2 separate regions of the Homo sapiens genome follow, and region 2 is linked to region 1. The links are contacts of gene promoters, found by promoter capture Hi-C in blood cells and fetal thymus (Javierre and others, 2016). All regions are on one chromosome and are shown on one strand. Each heading gives the region's core, a stretch centred on a gene start or on the middle of the fragment in contact. The rest is flanking DNA. Distances are from core to core; before and after follow the strand shown. Region 1 holds the start of PIGS (phosphatidylinositol glycan anchor biosynthesis class S). Region 2 has its middle 4.5 kb from the start of FOXN1.

Region 1 (5,253 bases), core at 660-3,159:
GGCAAAACTGCTCATAGGTCCCCCAATATGCTGATTCACCCCGCCACACTTTCACACAGGAGTATAGTTTGTTGGTTAAAAGCTTGAACACTGGAATCAGTCAGGCCTGGATTTAAATCCCAGTTCCATCTCTTACTAGCTGTGTGACCTTGCACAAGTTAAATTCTCTAAGGCTCAGTTTCTTCATTTATAAAATGGGGATCATATCATTAGAAAGGATTAAATGAGGCAACACATATAAAATGCTTCACCTAGTTTCTGGCACACAGCGAGCAACAACTATCAGCTATCCTTATACTGTCTCATGCTATTAACTTTGCCTGAAATTCTCTCCCTCCTTTTCCCACTTAACCTGAATTCCTACACATCCTTTAAAAATCCGACTTAAGAATTACATCTCTCAAAACTTTCTCTGCCTTTCTTTCCTCCCAGATGGTTAATACTCTTTACTAAGTGCAATCTCTGTTTCTTGTATACTTCTACTGTAATTTATTTTATCTTTCTCCCCTACCTATGAACATCTTGAAACCATTATCAATTTCTTATTCATTCCTAAATTCTTGGTACCTAAAAAAAAGTACCCCAGTAAAGTGTTTAATGTTAAACTGAATAGGGGCTGGGCGCGGTGGCTCACGCCTGTAATCCCAACACTTTGGGAGGCTGAGGCATGCGGATCACCTGAAGTCAGGAGTTCGAGAGCAGCATGGCCAACATGGCATAACCCCGTCTCTACTAAAAATACAAAAATTAGCTGGGCGTAGTGTCGCGCGCCTGTAATCCCAGCTACTCGGGTGGCTGGTGCAGAAGAATCGCTTGAACCCAGGAGGCAGAGGTTGCAGTGAGCCAAGATGGCGCCACTGCACTCCAGCCTGGGCGACAGAGCGAAGCTCCGTCTCAAAATATAATAAATAAATAAACAAACAAACTAAATAGGGCCTATATGCAAATCCAATTTAATTTCAAACTCTGTGTTCTTTCCACTATATCCCACCTCTTCCCCTATACCCTGATGGGCATCAACTGCTTCCGATTAGGTAGCCTGTCTTACGAGTAAAATTGCTATTTAGTGACTGTGAATTTGAAAGTAGTTTTTTTCTGACCAAACACACTGTTCATTCAGAGGTCTTTCAACAGTAAGTTTTTAACTGCGTTTATGGTACACCCCCGCTCCTCCCACCCAACTCAGCTCTGAACTGAGCTCAGAGGCGAAAAGCAGCCCTGATCCCCAGTAACTCACATTTCAGAGGAATCTCTCTTTCATGCACAACGGTGAAGGGCAGCTTCTCCTGGTCGTCCAGGGGCACTGACTCCCGCGTAAACACGACAGTGACAGGCACCATGAGGCGGAGCTACAGGAAGGAGCATCAGGGCCGTCACTGAGTCTCCACCTTGCCGGGGGGGCTGTCCCCCGACCCTCCCGCACAGCAGTCTCACCTGAAGGGCATTCAGGCCACTGATCTGGGAGTAAGGCAACGAGGCCCGGTAGGTCTCCGTGGTCTTCCACCAGAGCGGTAGCCCCAGCACGATGGCCACCGCAGCGAAGAAGAGGGCGGCGCGCTTGCCCCGGGCCACCTCTGAGGGCATGGGGAACCGACTGAGGCGCTGGAAACGGGCTAGGGTACCGGCCCCATCCCCGACGCGGAGAAGCCCCAACCACCGGCCTCCAGGGGCCCGCGTTCATTGGGATCTCCGTGCGAAGGGACCCGGCCCAAGCCTGAAGGGAATCTCGTCTGAAGAGACCCCCGAGCCCCCCGTCCGCGGGACCTCTCGCACACCACAATCCCCACCCCTGCTATTCCTCCCTTGCCATCAGCTAGCTGCAGGCCCCCCACCCGAAGCCCACCGCACCTAGGTGTGTAGCCGCAGCCCCGGCGGCCGCCATGCTAGCTTCCGGCTGCTCCGGCCACCGTGGGGGCAGAGCTTCGTGAGCCTCACCCAATCGGAATCTCTGCAACGAGGGGGCAGGACCGCGGCGGTGATCGGGGCCAATCGCGAGCGCTACTCCAGACCCGCAGACGGGAGCAAGCGGGCGAGGGGTGGGAGGGCTCCGCTGGGAGCTTCGCTGGGGATCTGAAAGGAAGTCACCCGGGCGCGGAGGGACAGCCTAGGGGCCGTGCGGGTTTCGGCGCTGCTGGAACGAAGTTCCCCGCTTCCCTGTAGAACACACTTCTAGCCCCGCAATCAAGAGCGCAACCTCTGCAGTCCTTAAATACTAGCTGGGCAACTACAGGCAGCTCCGAGGCTCATCTGAAAATGGAGATATTTACATAAATGAGGCCGTTCTTGTAAGGAGCCTGGCACACGGAAAGCCCTCAACGTCAACTGTCACGGTCTTATTATCCTTATCGTAGAACTCCTCTTAGGGTGCCCTCTCCTCAAAGCCTCAAACACGGAGGTAGCAAGCTAGTATGTTTTAGCACAATTGGCTCTCTCGCTATTTTAAAATACGTTTTAATTCATTTCCAACTTGGAAAACTCAGAATACTTCACTTAAAAATCTTGAAAAGTCATGAGCCCAGACTCTAGATGCTGATCACTGCGGTTCAAATCCTGGCTTCATCACTTATTAGGTGAGTGATCGTGAGAAGATCGTTCTGTGCCTATCTGTGCCTGTTTTCTCTATTAAAATAGGGATGATAGTAATAGTACCTACTTTATAGAGTTGTATGAAATGTGTCAGTACATATAAAGTGATTAGAACAGGGTTGGTGCTATGTGCAAGCTATTTTTGTTATTATAAAGTCAGGCCACACAGGGTGGAGCATTTGTAGCCTCCCCAGTTGACACAGAACACACGCAGCTTGTTATCTCTTCTTTTTATCTGCTTAGACCCAGGTTCTCAGCCTACCTCACAACCCAGCCCAGTGGTTAAAGTTCAGCATCAGGCCTCACCAGAGCTGTCCTTACCCAGACCCTCCAATTGGCTCCCTTTGTGCCCACTTCTACCCCAAATGAAAATGGGCCATAGCCCTTGGCAACCTCCTAGATGCCCTGCTCAGCCCTGGCAGCCCGCAGAGCCTTGGTTTTCCTCTTTGGGCGGGAGTCCAGGTGCTCGCTTGCCCTTACTGGTGTGGCTCACCCTAGTGGAAGGTACCAGGTCCCAGCTGGGCTTAACACTGCGAGATGGGAGAGACTCCCACCCACTCTTATCCCAGCCTGTCTTGCTGCCTCCCTGCTTTGAGCCTTGCACAAATCTGCCTTCAGGAGTTGCCAGTTTGGCCTCACTCCATACTTCTGTAGCTGCAGCCCAGTGCCACTGATGTGGCAGTCCCTAGAAGACTTGCAGTCTTCCTCATTGCCCCACTCCAGACTTGGACATCAAGAGAGCAAGAGCCTGAGCTGGGGATGGTGACTGCATGTGCCCTTCCTCCATAACTTGAAGCCCAGTAAGACTCAAATCCCACCCTCTCCACCTCCAGAGTCAGAGGGCCCAGAGATAGAATTAGCAGAGATCAGAAACTGGGAGGTGGGAATTTGATGTGTAAAACAGACAGGCAAAGTAGAATGTTTTGCTACCATTTATTTGCTGTATGGTATGTACTCAAGGCATGAGTCAGGGCTTCTGTACTACCCTCTGATCCCAGGAGACAGGGCAGGCAAGAAGGAGAGCCCAGGGAGAAGCTACCTCATCATGGGAAAATTGTGGGAGCTGGAAGAGGTAGGGGGAGACCCAGCCATCCTGTTCTGACTTCTAGCAATTTCTTCTGCCCTCAGTCATGAGGGGCTCCCTATCCTCCCATCCTATGGTCCCAGGTGCAGCAATGAGAGAGGGGAAGGGAAGAGAGAAAGGAAGACAAGTTGGTGCCAGGTGAAGGCATCTCTGCTCTGCATAGCTATTTGGCCCTGGCCATGACTACAAGCAAAAGTGGGTGCAGATGGCTGGGCCAAGGGCTGTGGTATGGAGTGGATACTCAGTAGGCATGGTTGGCAATGTAGAGTGACTGTGCTGCTGCTCCACCATCTTCTCCACTGCCTTCATACTTGCCCTGGGCTGCAAGCCCATTCACCTGCAAAAGGGAGCGTGGAGTAAGCAGGCTGAGCCAGCCCACAGGTGCCAAGCCCTGCCCAGGCTATAGCCTCTGGGTGCTGCCCCCACCCACCACCACCTGTAGCTCCCAACCTCAGCCCGCTTGATGAACTCCTCAGTGGCAGCCCCAGCATTGTCCCGTTGCCCTCGCCAGGCATTGAGTGCAGAGGCTTGCAGGGCACGCCCATAGGAGAAGGTAAGCGCCCAGGGTCGGGGAAGGGGGCAGCGGTTGATGGCATTGAGGTTGAATGATGCCTCTTCTTCGCTCTGACCCCCAGACAGGAAGGTCACTCCTAGTGTGGAGGAGAGAAGACAAACTGACTGGTCACTCCCAATTTTTCCAGGATAGGGAACCCCTGAAGGCCACAAGAAGGACCTGAAGATGGGCCTTAGGGATAGGAGCAGGTTAGGGAGCTGGGTAGTACCTGGGACAGCTGGGGGCACAGTGCGACGCAGGGCAGTGACAGTTGCCATGGCAATCTCCTCTGGGGTATACTTGATGGGACAGGCATGGCCCGGGGTCACCATGTTGGGCTTGAGCAGGGTCCCCTCCAGGTATACATGATGGTCACTCAGGGCCTTGTACACAGCAGCCAAGACCTGGGTGGGGATTAGAGGAGGTTTACTAAGGGTCTGGGCCCCCACTGGTTACTGCTCGATGCTCCCTATGTAGGGGTAGATGGGCACAGACTGTGAGGGCTCAGTACAGGCTCAGATCACAGGCCTGTGCCGGGATGAAGTGAAAAAGTGCTAGGGGAAAGTGTGCCTGGATCTAAGCTGGGGGTTCTGGGGAACAGACACTCCTGCCGAGCTGTCCCTGCAGTATGTTTGTGTGCCCAGGTGTGGACTCACCTTCTCTGTAACATACTGACAACGTTTGAGGTCGTGGTCTCCATCAGGCAATATTTCAGGTTCCACAATAGGCACAATGCCATTCTGCAGGCAAGAGCAGAGATGCTTGGGAGGGGCAGTAGGGGAGATGAAGAAAGCCTTGTGACTCTCTCCCCACCAGGCATACAGGGCACCTAGCTCACCACCCTCCCAACACACACACCTGCTGGCAGATACTGGCATAACGGGCCAGCACGTTGGCGTTCTCCAGAATGGCAAGTGCAGAGGGTGTACGCTCACTGATTTTCAGCACACAGCGCCACTTGGCAAAGTCAGCACCATCCTTCTTGTATTGGGCACAGCGTTCTGAGAGCCCATCCAGCCCTGCAAGCACA
Region 2 (5,490 bases), core at 316-2,815, 71 kb before region 1:
TGTGCTTCTCAGGGTGCACATGCCCTGCCCACTGTTCTCGGCACACTTCCCCCTCAGTCCGGCTCAGAGAGGGTCAGGTGTGGACTGAGATCACACAGCAGTCCCAGAAAGTGAGCACCCGGTTGGCCCTGCATTCTCCAGGAAGGAGGTGGACGCCAGCCAGCCTGAGGGTCGACAGTTTGGCTGCGGTGGATGCCCTGGCAGAGCTCTGGGGCCAAGCCTCCCCTAGGTGCTCAGAAAACACCCTCTTTAGCAGGCAGGAGGGTGGACAGGCAGCAGGTGGCACCTGTCGGCCTAATCACCATCATTAACTGGGCAATAAAGCGGCACGGCCTGGGCTAGTCTTTGAAGGAAGGGCCCGCCAGCCAGGTCAGGTTTACACAGGCAGCCCGGCAGCTCGGCTCCACACACACTCCAGGCTGCGGCAGGTAGATGGGCCCTGCTGGGACTGAGTCTGCAGCCTCGCTGCCCAGGCACCCACACCCCATCATTGATGGCTTCTAGGAAGTTAGCAGTGAGCTTTGGGTGTCTCCTACCAGCTGGACTTGTGCGGTGCTGGGACTCAACAACTTCTGCGGTAGTGAGCATCCCATTGCTAAGATCAACAAGTCTGGAAGTGACTTGAGGACAGTCTGCCTGATTCGAGCTGTGTCCCCAGTTCCTCCACAGGGCCTGGCACAGCAAATAGTGCATGAAGGAGGAATGTGTGGGAACTATACGGGAGCTTCTTGCTCCCAGAGGGAAGCTGGACACGCTCCCCTCCAAGCCTCTTTCCAGACTGCCGTGTGTGGAGTGCTGTGTGACTTTGAGAAATATCTTGACCTCTCTGGGCCAATGTCACCTTAAGCTCAGCAGATAGGCCCAGATTTCTGAGCCGACCCATAGTGTTCCCCTGACCCTGTCCCCTGAGGTCCTGGGAGTGTCCCTGTTTCCCTACTCCCTCCTCCTGCCAGCCAGCACCAGCCCTCTATGGCAACCACAGGGCCCAGGGATAGGTGGAGCTTGTTAGGGAGCTTGTGGAGGCAGGAGCAGGGCTGTCCACACCACTCTCTGAGTTCACCTGGACCTGGGCCCCGGCCAAAGTGCGCTCTAGAGGTTAAGGTCATTGGCCCCAGAGTAGGCTCCTTGGGGGCGCAGGCCATGACTTCCTATCTCCTCACAGTCTTGGAGGGGAGGCTGCTTTCTGAAGGAGGGAGGGAAGGGTGGAGGAAGCTAGGGAGTGTTGGGTCAGGGGTCGAGTAGAACTGGGTGGGTGAAGTTCTGGTGGAGTACCAGTCTCCAACCCTGCAGCCTCCACCCCAGTTTGGCAAGGGAAGGGGAAGGGGGTGTGCAGAGGAGAAGGCAAGGAAGGGAACAGAGCAGCCTAGTTGGAAAGAATGTGACGGGGACTCAGAAGAGTGCTCTGAAGGGTGGAAAGACCCACAAATGTGTGTACGTGGAGTCACAGATCCTTGGGTACCCACAGAACCCATAGACACATGCACAGACATGGATACCCGGGAACACACAGTTACACACATTCACACACAAACACTCATGCATACAACATTACAGGCTCTCACAGCCTGAAAGACACACAGGACCACCCCCAGAAACACACACAGACATACACAGCCACAGCCACCTGTACACACACAGTCGCTCAGACGCCTCCGCACCCCGTGTCAGACCTGAGTGTTCTCGCTGCATGTGGCTACCCACATTTAGACACAGATTCTGGCACGGACATACCCAGTAGCACATTACAGCTCCACAGACTTCAGGCGCACCCATGGTGACACGTGAAAGTGAGAACACAAATGTAAATACGTACACACTCATGCAGAGGTACACATGTACTTACACAGACACTGACACCAGTGAAAACACACACACCCCAGCATTGCTTCTCCCACCTCCACAGCAGGAGGGATTAAGACAAGAGGTGAGAAGCCCTCCCCACCCAGCAGGACTCTGTGTTCCTCCCCCACCGACCCCCCCACCAAGCTCTCAGATTGGAAACTCCCTGGATTTCCCAGGGGGTCAGCCAACCAGAACAGGCTCAGACCTCGGCCCAGCTGCCCCGCCACACGCCCTCCACAGCTCTGGGTGCTTCTCCATCAGCCACAGCCAATGAGCTGTCTGCTCTTCCCCAGGAAGCTCACCCTAATTAACCCCAGATCTCCCCACCCCTTCTTTGACATGTGGTCCCTGGGCCTCAGGGCCTCATGGCAGCTTTGCTTGGGCCCTGTTCCTCTGTGGATGTTCTTCAGTGTCTTGCACACCAGTGGAGTGAGACTTGGAAAGCAGCAGGCTCAAATCTTGGGAACTCACTTTGGAAAAGCAAGTCCAGCCTGCATGAGCGGAAGCAGACAGAAGATGGCCAATCCAGATGCAGGGTTCAGGAAGGGGTCCCCCTCCTCCATCACATTGGGGCTCCCAAGGGTGGGCACATGCTCTTCCTTCTTCCTAGCGTCCCTAGGGTCTTTCCCCAGACTGAAGCATAGCAGACATGGGCCCCAGGGATTTCCATCCCCAGCCAGGGCTGTTTTCTGGCCCAAAGCAGCCCAGCCCTGGGCACAGCTCAGCAGCATACAGTGAACTGCTTCTGACCTCCAGTATTCAGAGGGACAGAGCTTTCTCTGGCCCCAGCCTGTCTAAGCATCTAGCTGCAGCTCCTCCAGGCCAGAGCCCAGCTCAGCTCCATCTGAGGACCTGAAATGAGGGTGCTGGAGTGTGTGGGACCAAAACTCCAGACAAAAGTCCTTTCCCAATACTGCAGCAGCTGGAGTTGAGGCTAGACACCAGGACAGACTTTCTGGGCCTAAGAGAGAATTCTGGAGGGCTGGTGTGATGAGAGAAGGAGGGGATGGTCCTATCTAGAGACAGAGGAGAAACACCTCACAAATCCCCTTTCAGTCCAAGGACTGTGGCAATCCCAAGGTTCCTGTTTCAACTCCCAGACTGCATGCAATGAGGAAGTCATGCTTCCCAAAGGAAAGAGGGAGCCAGAGCCAGAGCCTACACCCATTCCTGGGGCAGAGGTGGATCCTGATTTGGAAGAGAAAGAAGTTCATCTCACCCGCCAGAAGCAGTCTCACTGTGGGAGGTGATAACTACAGTCTCTCCTGGGCATCCCATCAGGGCCTCCCTGAGACCCTTGGCCCCTGAATTAATTTGCATTTTCTTGATTTTTAATGAAGTTGAAAATCGTTTCACTTGTGTCTTGGCCGTTTGTATTTTACCTGTGAATTGCTTGTGTCCTTTGCCCATTTTTCTGTGAAATCATCTTTTTATTTATTTAGAGGAGCTCCTTATATATTGTGGCTATTAACTCTCTATCTGTTACATATGTTTCAACACTTTCTTCCAGGCTATGTTATGTCTTTTAACTTTGTTCATGTTACATTTTGCTCTAAAGAAATTTACAGTTTTTATTTAGTCAAATCTGTCAATGTATTCCTTTATGGCTTCTGCATTTGATGTCATGTTTAAAAATGCCTTTCTCCACTCCATAATCATAAAAATATTTCCTATATTTTTTCTATTTGTTTGTATGATTTTCATTTTTACATTAGATTGTTAATCCATCTAGATTTTTTAATGTACAGTGTGAAGTAGGATTTAACTTTATTTCTTTCCAATGGAAAGTTCATTGCCCCAACTCCATTTATTAAATTTTTTACTTGCTACTTTAAAATACTTTACAGTCCAGATGTCGTGGCTCAAGCTTATAATACCAGTGCTTTGGGAGTTTGAGACCAGCCTGGGCAACAGAGCAACACCCCATCTCTACAAAAAAAAATTCTTTTTTAACTAACTGAGCATGGTATAACTGTAGTCCCAGCTACTGGGGAGGCTGAAGTGAGAGGATCACTTGAGTCCAGGAGGTGGAGGCTGCAGTGAGCTATGATCTTGCCACTGCACTCCAGCCTGGGCAACAGAGCGAGACCCTGTCTCAGAAAAATAAAGTAAAATACCCTACTATTATATATCTATTTTAAAATACCTTGTTATCATATTCCCATTTCTCACAAATATCCAAGTTTATTCTGGACTCTATTATCTTCCATTAATTTATTTATTTCTGTATCAAAGTTGCAGCTTTAATTATGGAAGCCTTATTGAACATTTTGAAAACTGGCAGGGAAAGTTACCTCTGTTAGTCTTCTTTCTCAAAAAGCTCCAAGCTATTCTCATGTATTTACCCTTCCCCCAAACTATAGAATCAACTCGTCAAGTTTAGGGGGCAAAAAATCCTTTAGACTTTTGATTTGAATTACATTCAGCTTCTATTTAGAGGAGAACTGACATCCTTACAATATTATATTCAGCCTTCCTGTTGTTGCTGTTTTAGAGACAGGGTCTCTCGCCTTGTAGCCCAGGCTGGTGTCAAAACTCCTGGGATCAGGCGATCCTCTCACCTCCCGAAGTGCTGGGATTACAGGCATGAGCTACCATGCCTAGCCTTTTTTTTCTTTTTTACTTTTTTTTTTTTTTTTCAGCCTTCCAGTTCAGTAACATGATATGCCCTTATTTTTTATTCAGGTCTTATTTTATGTCTGTCAGTAAAAATGTATTGTTTTCTTCATGTAGATTTCATGCATTTCTTATTAAGTTTATTCCTGGATATTTTGTATTGTTATTTTTGTGAGCTAAATCTTTTTGTCTCCTTTTTTTTCTTTCTTTTTTTTTTTTTTTTTTTTTTTTGAGACAGGGTCTCACTCTGTCCCCCAAGCTAGAATGCAGTGGCTCACCGAAACCTCTCGGCTCACTGCAACCTCTGAATCACTGGCTCAAGCAATCCTCCCACCTTAGCCTCCCAAGTAGCTGGGACTACAGGCGCGTGCCACCCCACCCAGTTAATTTCTGTATTATTCGTAGAGACAGGGTGTTGCCATGTTGCCCAGGTTGGTCTTGAACTCCTGAGCTTAAGAGATCCACCCGCCTCAGCCTCCCAAATTGCTGAGGTGTGAACCACCGTGCCCAGCTATCTCCTATTTTAATTGGTTGTTTTAGCTGTATAGAAATGGTTTTGATTTTTATACATTGATATATTCTGCTATCTTACTTCATTCTCTCATTTGTTGTAATAGTATTTTAGTCGATTCTCTTCGATTTCCTAAATAAGCACAACATTTGTAATTCTTGAAGGTTTTGCATCCTTCCTTCTTATATTAATGCCTTATTTCTTTCTCTTATTGTACTGGTTGGGGCTTTCAGAATAATGTTCATTGATAACAACCATGGCAGCCTTCAACTTACAACTTTTGTGGTTTTCTGTGCCCAGAGTATCCATACAGAAATATCTGTGAGTCTAGAAATAACAATTAGCTCTGTGTACATCAGATAGAAGCAGTTAGCAAACACCCAGGTCTTGATAGCTGCCCTTTCACTGTGAAACTCCGTAGACTATTAGGGTTAAGGGAGCAGAGCTTTGACTGCTACTGTGAGTCCCAGAGAAAGGTGGATTGAGTCAGGGCCCCTCTCCTAACCCCAGAACACAATTCT

Evidence for each region. Contacts are between HindIII fragments. The CHiCAGO score rates a contact against its expected background, and 5 or more counts as called.
Region 2: a fragment that was not itself captured here is called in contact with the fragment with the promoter of PIGS in region 1 in 3 of 17 cell types (naive B cells, total B cells and M2 macrophages); the score reaches 5.4 in naive B cells.

What each region holds. Positions count from the first base shown.
Region 1 is chr17:28,569,615-28,574,867 of GRCh38, forward strand. It overlaps PIGS (phosphatidylinositol glycan anchor biosynthesis class S), which reads right to left and starts at 1,910. Exons shown (of 12, transcript NM_033198.4): 1 at 1,849-1,910; 2 at 1,435-1,574; 3 at 1,238-1,349. The coding sequence starts at 1,882. It overlaps ALDOC (aldolase, fructose-bisphosphate C), which reads right to left. Exons shown (of 9, transcript NM_005165.3): 5 at 5,082-5,242; 6 at 4,880-4,963; 7 at 4,453-4,627; 8 at 4,121-4,320; 9 at 3,506-4,007. The coding sequence ends at 3,912. RefSeq lists a silencer at 1,254-1,450 and enhancers at 1,431-1,550, 2,241-2,290. The HindIII fragment of the contact is 5,378 bases long and covers 81-5,253 here.
Region 2 is chr17:28,499,094-28,504,583 of GRCh38, forward strand. No RefSeq gene overlaps it. Among named protein-coding and RNA genes, the nearest start is that of FOXN1, 4.5 kb to the right of the region's middle. RefSeq lists a silencer at 2,055-2,251. The HindIII fragment of the contact is 4,283 bases long and covers 1-3,707 here.